Regions from separate parts of the Homo sapiens genome. Here region 2 is linked to region 1. Evidence: promoter capture Hi-C in 16 types of primary human blood cells and fetal thymus (Javierre and others, 2016). All regions are on one chromosome and are shown on one strand. The core of a region is centred on a gene start or on the middle of the fragment in contact, and the rest is flanking DNA. Distances in the headings are between cores, read along the strand shown.

Region 1 (5,561 bases), core at 1,539-4,038:
TTGCGCCTCGACCTGCAGTTACACCAGTCGCATCATCTGTACTTGCCAGTACTGTCTGTTACTCGTCTAGGTGCTCAGTTAGTCAGTGTTTGTGTTCTGTTTTCATTTCTCATAAAGCAGTCCCACAACTGAAGGTTTTTCCCGAGAGAACTGAACAGTATTGTAACTAAATAGATTTATTTCAAGCTTTTCGTAGCAACTGGCCGGTTAGCTCAGTTGGTTAGAGCGTGGTGCTAATAACGCCAAGGTCGCGGGTTCGATCCCCGTACGGGCCAGGATTGAAACTTTTCGAAAGTACGATTACTGCACTCCGTTTTAGAGCCAAGTAACGTCTCTGGGGAAAAACAGCGCCACATTTCCAATCCCAGAACAGGGAGCGTATTGGAGCGCATTCTAAAGTGGGCGTGTCTTGAGAGGAAGGGATTGAGAGAAACCGGGGTTGTTTCGTGATCTTTGCTTCTACATCTTATGGCCACAATATATGGCTCCTGAACTTACTGTGTGAACTGTAAACAAAAGGCTTTGGGACAAATTTGTCTCAAACCACGTGGCACTGATCTGCAGAGTGTGGGAAATGGTCAGGAATAGAGCTGACAAGTGTTCCCAGTCTTCCCCCAGAGGTAAGATGTCCGTCCAATCCACCCAGCCCCTGCCTATTCATGAGGACCTGAGAAGACAATTTCTTCCCCTTCTCTTCTAGAGCATCTTTTTTACGTTTCTGTGGTTACCGGATCTCTGGGCCCCTGTGAGTGATTATCTGTGTCCTCACATTTCCCCTCAGACCAGATGCTTAAGAGCAAGAACCATATCTTTCCCCACGGAGCCTGAGACATCTCCACCCCCACCCCACTCCCAGCACCAGCCCCAAGGGAGCTGCGTGAACAACACCGACCCTCATTCCCATTCCTTTGGCTTATTAATCACTGCAACCCCACACAGACTCAGCCTCAGCCTTCGCAGCAGCAGCACTTTAATTCCACAAAAACTCAGAAAGCCAAAACTGATTAGAACACTCCACAACAGGTGAGCTTCAAAACCAGCAACATTCTACCTGAACCCTGAGAGCAGTGAGACGCCTCCCACCTCACCCCCTCCGCCGTGCAACCCATTCCTCCTAGCTGCACGCCGGTTCTGGCTGGGGAAGTGGTATGGTAGAGGGCCAGAGGGCAGAAGCAGAAGGCTCTCCATCAGCAGGGGTGCATCTTTGCCTGCGGGGTGTTTGGCCAAGGACGGCACAAGCTCCCACAGCCCCTGGCACCTGAGATGTGGCCACTGGAGTCAGGATAGCCACAGTGGGGGCTGGGGCTTCCTCTGTCCCTTTCTCCTGATTACATGTGGGAGTCACGTCCTCACCTTCAAGCAGACCTAAAGCCCCGTGTTCCCAGGGCTGGTGCTCTAGCTAGGGAGGAGAGTTGGGAAGAACAGGGTAGCTACAGATGGCCAACTGAATACAAGCAGAGCAACATCCCTTCCCACCAGGAGAGCCGTTAGAACTTCCCCACATACACCAGCCTAAGGCCCAGCGAGTGGGCACGGGCCAGCTGAACGCATCTGGAAGAGCCTCCAACACACAGGCCTCCCCTCAGTGGGCACTTCCCACCAGGACTCCCTGAAGAGTCCTTAGGGTCCTGCTGGGCCCTGCCCTGGCCAGGACCGGCCTCTCCTGTCCTCCTGGTCACTTGCACAGGGCCTCCAACACCTCCAGAGTACGTCGGATATCCCGGACTTGGCGCGCCAGCCCCTGAACCGGCTGCAGAGCCCGCTCCAGCTCCTCGCAGCGCGCCAGCAGGGTGTACATGCCCTTGATGCTCATGTCCACGGCTTCACCTAAGGAGTCCACAGCATCGCGGTAGGTCTGGATGCAACCCACGCTCAGCGCCGTCAGCTCCTGCACCGCGCCACCCAGACCGCGAAGCAGACGGTCCACCCGGCCTCCCAGCTCCCGACTCAACCGCTCCAGATCCCGCAGCACCTCGGGGTCGATTGGGGGAATGGCCGGTGTGGGTGTGGGTGCAGGCGCTGGGCAGGGCCGCGCAGGGGCAGAAGGCGGGGGTGGAGGCGCGCCGCTCAGACGGATCTTGAGTTGCAGGTTGTTGGCGACAAAGTGGGTAAGGTCGCCGTGGCGGCTCACTGTGCCTTCGAGCTCCAGGGGACTGGAGATGGTGGCGCGGCGTCCGCCGCCCGCGCCGGACTCGGCACTCCCTGAGGACCCGGCGCCACCGCACGCCTCGCTCAGCCCGTCCAGGCTGCGGCTGTCCTGAAGACGGCTGGAGAACGAGCGGCCGGCTCTGCTGCCCGCGGCCGCCTCCTCGTCGTTGTCTTCCTCCTCCTGCTGCTCAACATCCATCCCGCCGCCTGGTCCCCCTCGACGGCAGTCCCTCCCGGAGGAGGGCTTGCCCTCGGGCGGCGCCGGGTTCTTGTGCCGGGAGGACAGGGAAGGTTCGTGCTCTGCACCCGGCGCCCCCCTGCGGCTCCCGGCCCCAGACAGCGTCCCTTGAGGGCCGGGCTCGTTCTCCAGAGCCTCCCGTTCCGGCCGGTGGACGACGCCGCAGCTTGACGTCTTCGGGGACGTCCTGGGGTGGCGGTTCGCGCCCCCAACGTTCTCGGTCTCTTCCTCCCCGGACACCCGGAGGCCTGCGGGCGGCTCAGAGGACGTTCGGCCCGGCCCGCCGCCAAAGACTAGGGCCTGATGTTCCGCTACAGCCAGAAGGTCCGTCTCGGGCCCGGGCCGCCCCCGAGACGACTCCATACTGCAGGTGGGGGCCGCAACGGAGGAATTGGTTCGCCCCGGCTCCGGAGGCAGTGGCTGCGCCTTTAAGGGGCGTTGGTAGAGGCGAGCCGATTGGCAGCGGCTGACAATGGTAAGGACAGGAAAAGCATTTTGATTGGTCGCGGCGACCAGGAAGTCCCGGAAGAAGAGCTGTTACTGCACAGCGGAACACACGTGAACGCCGGCAGGGTGGAGAGAAGGAGGTGACAGCTGCTCCCGTCGCCCCGCCCTTTCTGAAAGCTGATGGGGCAGATCTTAAAGACCAAGGTCCTCAAATTCCTGAGTCCCGAGGGGTGGGGCTCAGATCCTTTCTGCCTGTAATTGTACCCCCCCCAACAGTGATTGCTTAGCAAAAATACCAAGTGGGGAGCCCACTTGGGGTTCCTAGAGAGGTTCTTAGGATGAAAATGGCATATCCTTCTTGGACCATCAGGGTTGAACCTAGTTGACTAAAAAGAAGGAAACCAGAAGTCCAGCATGAGCATGAATGGTTTGCTCTATCTTTCTTGGTTAAGAGACCTAACCACTGAACTGCTCAGAGCGACCCACTGTGGTCAAGGCAGCGGCCTCTGGGCTTTCCTATGCGTTTGTCACTCTTGTTCTGTGTCTCTTGCCCCTTTCACACTGAGGGGTCTCGCCCCTTGGAGGATGGCGTGTGATTTTGCCACGAGGTAAAATATTCAACAAATGAAATGATCACAAATTTTGATATGTGCTATACAGGAAATAAAGTGTTATGATTGAGAATATAACTGAGCAGGCACTAGTTTAGGTAAGGGGTCAGGAAAATACCTCTTTGGTGAGACTTTTAACTAAAAAGAACCAAAAAGACGCAGCCACCCCCCAGGCAGAGAGAAGAAAACTTGAGCTACCTCTCAGAGACAAAGAAGTCTTGACGTATTCAAGAAACTGAGGTGAGGGGGCAGGAGACATTGGGACTAAAACAAAATCAGCAAGATAAGGGGAAGGATTTCGAGCCAAGGAGCTGAACAGGCAGCAGGGGCCACGTCATGCAGGGGGCCTTGTAGTTCCTGTTAGGGAATGGAGATTTCCTCTAAATGCAATGGTGCAGCGACATTGGAAAGGTTGTACATTGCAACACATAGCCAAAGCTTGGAGACATCAGTATTTTTATTTATTTATTTATTTATTTATTTATTTATTTATTTATGTATTTAGAGACAGAGTCCCACTCCGTCACCCAGGCTGGAGTGCAGTGGCGCGATCTCGGCTCACTGCAACCTCCGCCTCCTGGGTTCACGCGATTCTCCTAACTCAGTCTCCCGGGTAGCTGGGATTACAAGCGCCCGCCACCACGCCCGGCTAATTTTGTATTTTTAGTAGAGATGGGGTTTCACCATGTTGGCCAGGCTGGTCTTGAACTACTGGCCTCAAGTGATCCACCCGCCTCGGCCTCCCAAAGTGCTAGCATGACAGGCGTGAGCCACCGTGCCCGGCCAGACATCAGTATTTAATAAAAACAGTTTGCTAACTCTCCTTAGCTGACAAAGGATGTGGTTGTTTTTTCCATTTGGATAGAGAGATGTCTTGAGGCAGTGTCATGCCAGCATTCAGAAGTGCAACTCCCCAGAACTTCCCAGCACTACTATCCCCAGGTGCCTGCCGGGGTCCTAGCCAGCCAACCCTAATGATAGTAGCTCAATCTTTCACCACGCCTGAGGAGTCCACAATTGTCAGCTGTCTGTATCTTATAGTCACCTGCAGCTTGACAAAACCTGTCATTCCTTTGCTCTAAAAAAAAAAACCTAAAAAGCTCATATATAATTGGGCTGGGTAGGTAGATATTCTTTAGAAGATGGGAGGACTTCCCTTGAGAATGGGAAGCTGAGCACAGGAAGAGAGTGATGTGATGGGATTCATGTTTAGGGATTACTGGCTGTTGTAGAAAATGTTTGCAAGGGAGACGGTAGACCAGTGAGGAGGCGGTTCCAAGTACCAGGTGATAGTAGCTCAGCCTAGCACGATGTGGATGGATGCATTCTAGATGTATCTTGAAGGTTTTAGCGGACAAATGGGCTACCCACCGTCTCTCTGTGTAGGGGAAGCTCCTCACTCCTCAACTCCCCATTCCCTGATGTGTTGGTGCAATGACAGCCAGGAACAGGCACGTGACCCAAAACTGGCCAATTAGAGTACTTCATCCTTCTGACTGCAGATTGGCTCAGGGAAGGGCACATGACCCAATGTATGACCAGTAAAAATCCTCCACAGTGTTGTTTGTTTCTAGCTTTGTGGAGAGTGTGAGACGCCTTTCTGTTCTCTTGAGAGCTCAAGCTGGGTATCAGCTTGTCCATCTTTCATGTCCAGGAGATCGCTGTCTGTAGAAGGAAAGAATGAGGCTGATAAGGAAGAGAACCAGAGACAAAAGATGAAGAGGCATGAGTTCTGAGAGCGTTTGAATTCCTGTGCCAGCCTGAAGATAGCCCCACCTTTATCCTTCCTGTGATTTGGTTCCTTGCCCCACCCCTATCGCACCACCTCCCCCGCAAAACCTTGTTTCTTCCTACGGTGACTTCTGTCTCAGTAAGTGGCAACTCCATCTTCCCAGTGGCCAAGGCCAAAAACCCTGGAGTTGTACTTGACTCCTCTTTCTGTCATAATCCATGGCCAATCCTTTAGGAAATCTTGTTGGTTCTGCTCGAAAATACATCCAGAATCTGACCACTTCTCATCCTTACCATTGTTTCTGCCCTGGTCCAAACCACCATCATTTTTGGCCTGGATAAATGAAGTTGCTTCCCGAATGGTCTCACTTCTTCTACCCTCACCT
Region 2 (5,561 bases), core at 1,096-3,595, 760 kb after region 1:
TGCACTCCAGCCTGGGCGACAGAGCGAGACTCCGTCTTAAAAAAAAAAAAAAAAAAAAAAAAGAAAAGAAAAGAAAAGAAAAAGAAAAATGCAGCATACATCAAAAAGGACCCGTAAAGCTATTTTCAGAGTCCAAACCAGAAGAAATCAGGCCAGTAACTCAAGACAGTGGCCGACGCATGAGAGAAAGCCGAAATGCGCTCCTATGTTGCCTCCATCTTTTCCTCCACTTATAAGTAGGAGCTAAAGCTTTACCATGATAAGCTTTACCATTGTAAGGAGAATGGTTAACCCACTGGAAAGCATGAATCACAGATGTTTTATTTAGTCAGCAGAAAATATGTATTGAGGGTCTACTATTTGAGGGACTTCACTAGGCACTGGGGGTCCAGAAATCTCACAGAGCTCGTGGCCAGGAGGAGGATTGAGAGGTCACTACACAATGTGAAGGAGCAACAGAAAAATATGAAAAAGACAACCCAGTAGAAAACTGGACAAAAGGCTTGAATAGACGCTTCACAGAAGAGGGTGTCCAAATGGCCACTAAACATGTGGAGAGGTGCTCCGCTTCATTAGTCAGAAGGGAAGTGCACATTCCCACCACAAGGCAATACCACTACACACCCAGCAGAAGGGCCAAAATGAAAAAGGCAAAAAAAAGCACTGTTGTGAGGATGTGAAGCCACGCAAACCCTCACGGCTGCTGCGGGGAATGTACGCTGGTACGACAACATACCCAGTGGAAGATGCTCTATCAGACCCTAAAGCTCAACTTCAGCATGCTCCAGGCCCCAGGTATATGCCTCCTAGCTACATGCCCAGTGGACATGCAACAGGAAGTTCAGAGAAGCACCATCCAAAATAACTCTCAAACTAGAAACTACCCAGTGGGTTAGGTGTCCCAGTGGAGGCTAATATGGGACAGGTGCCATAGGAACTTGGAGGAGGGAGAATGTCTATTAGCAAAGCTTCTCCAAAAAGGTGACTCCCGAGATAACATTTCAGGAAGGAGGAGCTGCCCTGGGTGAGATTCAGGCATGAATCTCATGGTAGGAAAATAAACTGAGGCAAGAGGCGGGAGACAGCATGGTTCCTTTAGGGAAATGCTGGCAGTTCAGCCCTACTGAAGGGTAGGCATGACATGGGGCACGCTGGGAGATGATGCTGCATGGGCTGGCATGGTAGACTGTGAACAGCCTTATCTGCCAAGCTAAGTGCTTAAGGGTTTACTCAAGCGCCATGTGGAGCCACTGCTAAATTTCGAGCTGGTGAATGACACATCAGCTTTTGGATTTGGAAGGTTGTACCAGCCACAGGGTGAAAGGTAGATTGCGGGGAAAGGGTCCGATATTGAAACATCTGATGCCAAATAGGGAGGCTTGCTGCTGAAAATGAGTTTAGGATTGCAGAAGAGAATAAAGGCATCTCAGAGTCATAAAGAAACTTGAGGTTGTGAAAGGGAGCTGCTACCGATTATCTTTGAAGAATCAGAGAAAATGAAAGATGTATAAGAGACAGAGACAGAGAAAGACAGAGACAGATTAGAAAATGTTGTCGTCATCGTGAGGAACAGAAAAAGAAAGGGAGAATTCTGTAATGGCATTTGCAGCAACCTGAATAGGATTGGACACTATTATTCTAAGTGAAGTAACTCAGGAATGGAAAACCGAACATCATATGTTCTGACTCATAAGTGGGAGCTAAGCTATACGGATGCAAAGGCATAAGAATGATACAATGGATTTTGGGGACTTAGCAGGGGAAAGGTGGGAAGTGGGTGAGGGATAAAAGGCTACACATTAGGTACAACGTACACTGCACCAAAATCTCACAAGTCACCTCTAAAGAACTTACTCACGTAACCAAATACTACCTGTTCCCCAAAAATCTATGAAAATAAAAATTTAAAAACAATTTTTTTAAGTGGAATTTTTTAAAGTACATGTCTGAGTCCACCAGTCCCCTGGCAACATTCTCTATACATTATTAAAAGACAGTTTGTGAATGCTAAGGGAAAGATCCAGGAACCACCAGCAGCCAATAGGGATCAATGGATTCACTGACTAAAGAGGTAATAGAAGAACAGCCACAATAGCAGCATATCTGAATTTGAGCAAGTCTTGCTATATAGTTTCATGATGATGTAAAAAATACGAATGATAACACAGATAGATGGATTCATTACTGGCTTCATAACCTCACCCAAAGGGTGTTGAGTAGCTTCATCTGTAGGGACATTGCTCCTAAAATGCCAGAGAACCCTGCCTTTGGTCCTTTATAGCATGATTGTGGTAAAATATATGCAATATAAAATTTACGATTGTAAGTATTTTTTTAATTCCAACTTTTATGTTAGATACAGGTGCAGGTTTGTTATATGGGTATATTGCATCCAGGTAGTGAGCACAGTACTCAATAGGAGGTTTTTCAATCCTCACCCTTCCCTCTCTCCCCACTGAGAGTCCACAATGTCTATTGCTCCCATGTTTATGTCTACTTGTGCTCAGTGTTTAGCTCCTACTTGTAAGAGAGAACATATGGTATTTGGTTTTCCATTCCTACATTAATTTGCTTAGGATTATGGCCTCCAGCTCCATCCATGTTGCTGCAAAGGACATGACTTCATTCTTTTTTACGGCTGCATAGTATTTCATGGTTTATATGTAGAACATTTTCTTTATCCAATCTACCATCAATGGGCACCTAGGTTGATTCCATGTCTTTGCTATTGTGAATAGTGGGGTGATGAACACATGTGAGTACATGTGTCTTGTTGGTATAATGAGCTATTTTCCTTTGGGAATATACCCAGTAATGAGATCACTGGGTCAAATGGTGGCTCTGTTTTAAGTTCTTTGAGAAATCTCCAAACTGCTTTCTATAGTGGTTGAACTAATTTACGCTCCCACCAACAATGTGTAAGTGTTCCCTTCTCTCCACAGCCTCGCCAGCATCTGTTGTTTTTTGGCTTTTCAATAGTGGCCATTCTGACTGGTGCGAGATGGTATCTTGTTAAGGTTTTGATTTGCATTTCCCTCATAATCAGTGATAATGAGCATTATCTTTGATATGTGTGTTGACCATTTGTACGTCTTCTTTTGAGAAGTGTCTGTTCATGTCCTTTGCCTGTTTTTAAATGGGGTTATTTGGTTTTGGCTTGTTGATTTGTTTAAGTTCCTTATAGACTCTGGATATTAGACCTTTGACAGATGCATAGTCTGCAAATATTTTCTCCCATTCTGTAGGTTGTGTGTGTACAGTTTTGTGCGTACAGTTCTAAGTATACAGTTCAGTGACATTAAGTACATTCACAATGTTGTGCAACCATCCCCACCATCCATTCACAGAACTTTTTCGTCTTCCTAAACTGAAACTCCATACCCAATAAACACTAACTCCCCGCCACTTCTCCCCCCAGCCTCTGGTAACCTCTAATCTACTTTCTGTTTCTATGAGTTTACTCTAGCTACCTCATTTGGGTGGAATCACACAGTATTTATCCTTTTGTGTCTGGCTTACTTCACTTAGCATAATGTCTTCAAGGTTCATGCATATCGTAGCATGTGTTTGAACCTCATTCCTTTTTAAGGATCAATAATATTCAATTGAATGTATATACACATTTTGTTTATCCATTTATCCATTAATGGACATTTGGGTTAGTTTGACCTTTTGGTGTAGCATGCTGTTTTTTATTAATAGTTTTCAGCAGGGCTTAGGAGGCAAGCTTACTCCACAACAGAAGGGATAAAGAACATCTATGTAACAGTGAAGATTCACAAAGTTCAAATGTGGATGAGACTCAAAATTGTTCTTCCATATCTATTCTCCTTCCTTCTATGGGGATATAACTTTTAGGAATTTTAGATCACGTTTCCCAGACTCTTGTAACTAAGTATGACCATATGACTACATTCTGGCTACTGGAATATGAATAGACATTGATAAGTGCAATTTCCAAGTCATGCTTTTAGAAGGAAGAGGCATGCACTTCCCTTCCCCCTTTCCCCTTCTTGCTAGCTGGAATGCAGATGCGATGGCAATTGCTAGAGCAGCCATTATGGACCATGAGATGAGAGCTACATGTTGAAGAAGGCAGAGCAATGACACAAAAGGAACCTTGGTTCCCAACCTATAAAGCTGTCATGTGAAGTCTGGATCACTTATGCCCAGCTTGCTACCTGAGACAGAAATAAACCTCTATCTTGTTTAAGCCACTATTATTTTGGGTCTCTCCAATCCAACAGAGAAACCAGTAGACCAACTAATATTTCAGTGAATGCTGAGTTACCTAATAAGAGAAATGATGTTTTTGTTTTTCTGTTACTATGCCATTTAGTTACAGCTGGTGGATTTCCCCTGAATTTGTAGAATATGGTTTATGGTCTGACTTAAAGACCACACGGTATACCCAAAATTTCCTTGATAGAGACACCTCATAAAAGGTGAAGTCATCCTACAGACATGACTTCTGGAGCACAGGTTTTCTACATGGAGTCCCCACCTCTGTGTGTCCTACTCTAGGGAGAGCAGCAGGGATTGAGCTATTTAAAGGCCAGACACTCATTGGAGCAAACTGGGCTGGCCAGTTAGTATTGAAGCGACTTAAGTCGAGAGAGTAATATTTTTATAAATGAATTAGGGGTAATCTCTTACTGGTCAATAAAGTACCATGAGAATAAATTATGGGCATTATTACAAAATTTTTTCTCCTTAAACAAGGTCAGATATTTTAGTGAAAAATAACATTTTCACCTCCATCTACTGAGCAGATCTTCGGAGTAACACAGCCAACGAGAAGTAAGCCTGCAGCTTTGAAAATGCAGGAAAGGTAGGGGGAGGAGGGGAGATGGGACCCTCTGAGGCCACTGAGCTCTGGACCCAAGTTGCAACTGTGGCCGTTATCATATGATTACCATGGCTGCAACCCAATCCCTTCAACAGCCCCTGGACAGGAGCCTTGATGGGAACCTGGCAGAGTTGAGCCATGGTCCAAGAAGGAGCATTCTTGACCAGCTACATCTATCTCAGAGGAGAGTGCTGGACTGTAATAGCACAGTGCCTTGGACCACAGTTGGGAGAATGAGGGAATGGGAAGTTGGACGCCTCCTTCTTTATTCATTGCACCCATTACATGGTCCAGCATTGAGGGCTTGCTTCCATCAACTTCCACAAGTCCCCACCATCTATCTGCTAGGCAACTCAAGTACCCTCTAGAACAGCCTTCTGAACCAACTCCCAAATGTCTCACATGCCTTGGACCTGAGCTACTTAGCCTCACTAGTTCAGAAATGTGTTTTCTTGATGCTTACATAAGGCTAGTCCTTGTTCAACTCCACCCATCATCTCCCTCCTCAACCCCACCCTTTAGGCCAAGCTCTGCCTCTCTCAAGTGGGAGGTTTTTATTAGCAAGTTCTTTAAAGGGCCACACCCTTATTTTTCTCTTGTTTTGCACAGTAAAGCAAATCCCCTCACACCAACAGCTATCATAGCACCGTGACCCACAGGCTAATGTGTTGAACTCACAGGAGCCTTTGCACCTTGGCCCTACCACTGGCCA

Evidence for each region. Contacts are between HindIII fragments. The CHiCAGO score rates a contact against its expected background, and 5 or more counts as called.
Region 2: a fragment that was not itself captured here is called in contact with the fragment with the promoter of BORCS6 in region 1 in 1 of 17 cell types (naive CD8 T cells); the score reaches 5.0 in naive CD8 T cells.

The regions. Positions count from the first base shown.
Region 1 is chr17:8,187,392-8,192,952 of GRCh38, forward strand. BORCS6 (BLOC-1 related complex subunit 6) reads right to left here and starts at 2,789. Exons shown (of 1, transcript NM_017622.3): 1 at 954-2,789. The coding sequence starts at 2,749. The coding sequence ends at 1,676. LOC124903913 (a long non-coding RNA gene) reads right to left here. Exons shown (of 2, transcript XR_007065604.1): 2 at 3,884-5,109. TRI-AAT5-5 (tRNA-Ile (anticodon AAT) 5-5) reads left to right here and starts at 202; the gene lies at 202-275. RefSeq lists enhancers at 768-817, 1,956-2,602, 2,581-2,860, 2,603-3,248, 5,066-5,165 and silencers at 2,041-2,090, 2,161-2,220, 2,421-2,470. The HindIII fragment of the contact is 3,696 bases long and covers 185-3,880 here.
Region 2 is chr17:8,948,005-8,953,565 of GRCh38, forward strand. The region is part of intron 1 of PIK3R5 (phosphoinositide-3-kinase regulatory subunit 5); the gene reads right to left. Among named protein-coding and RNA genes, the nearest start is that of PIK3R5, 15 kb to the right of the region's middle. The HindIII fragment of the contact is 2,759 bases long and covers 967-3,725 here.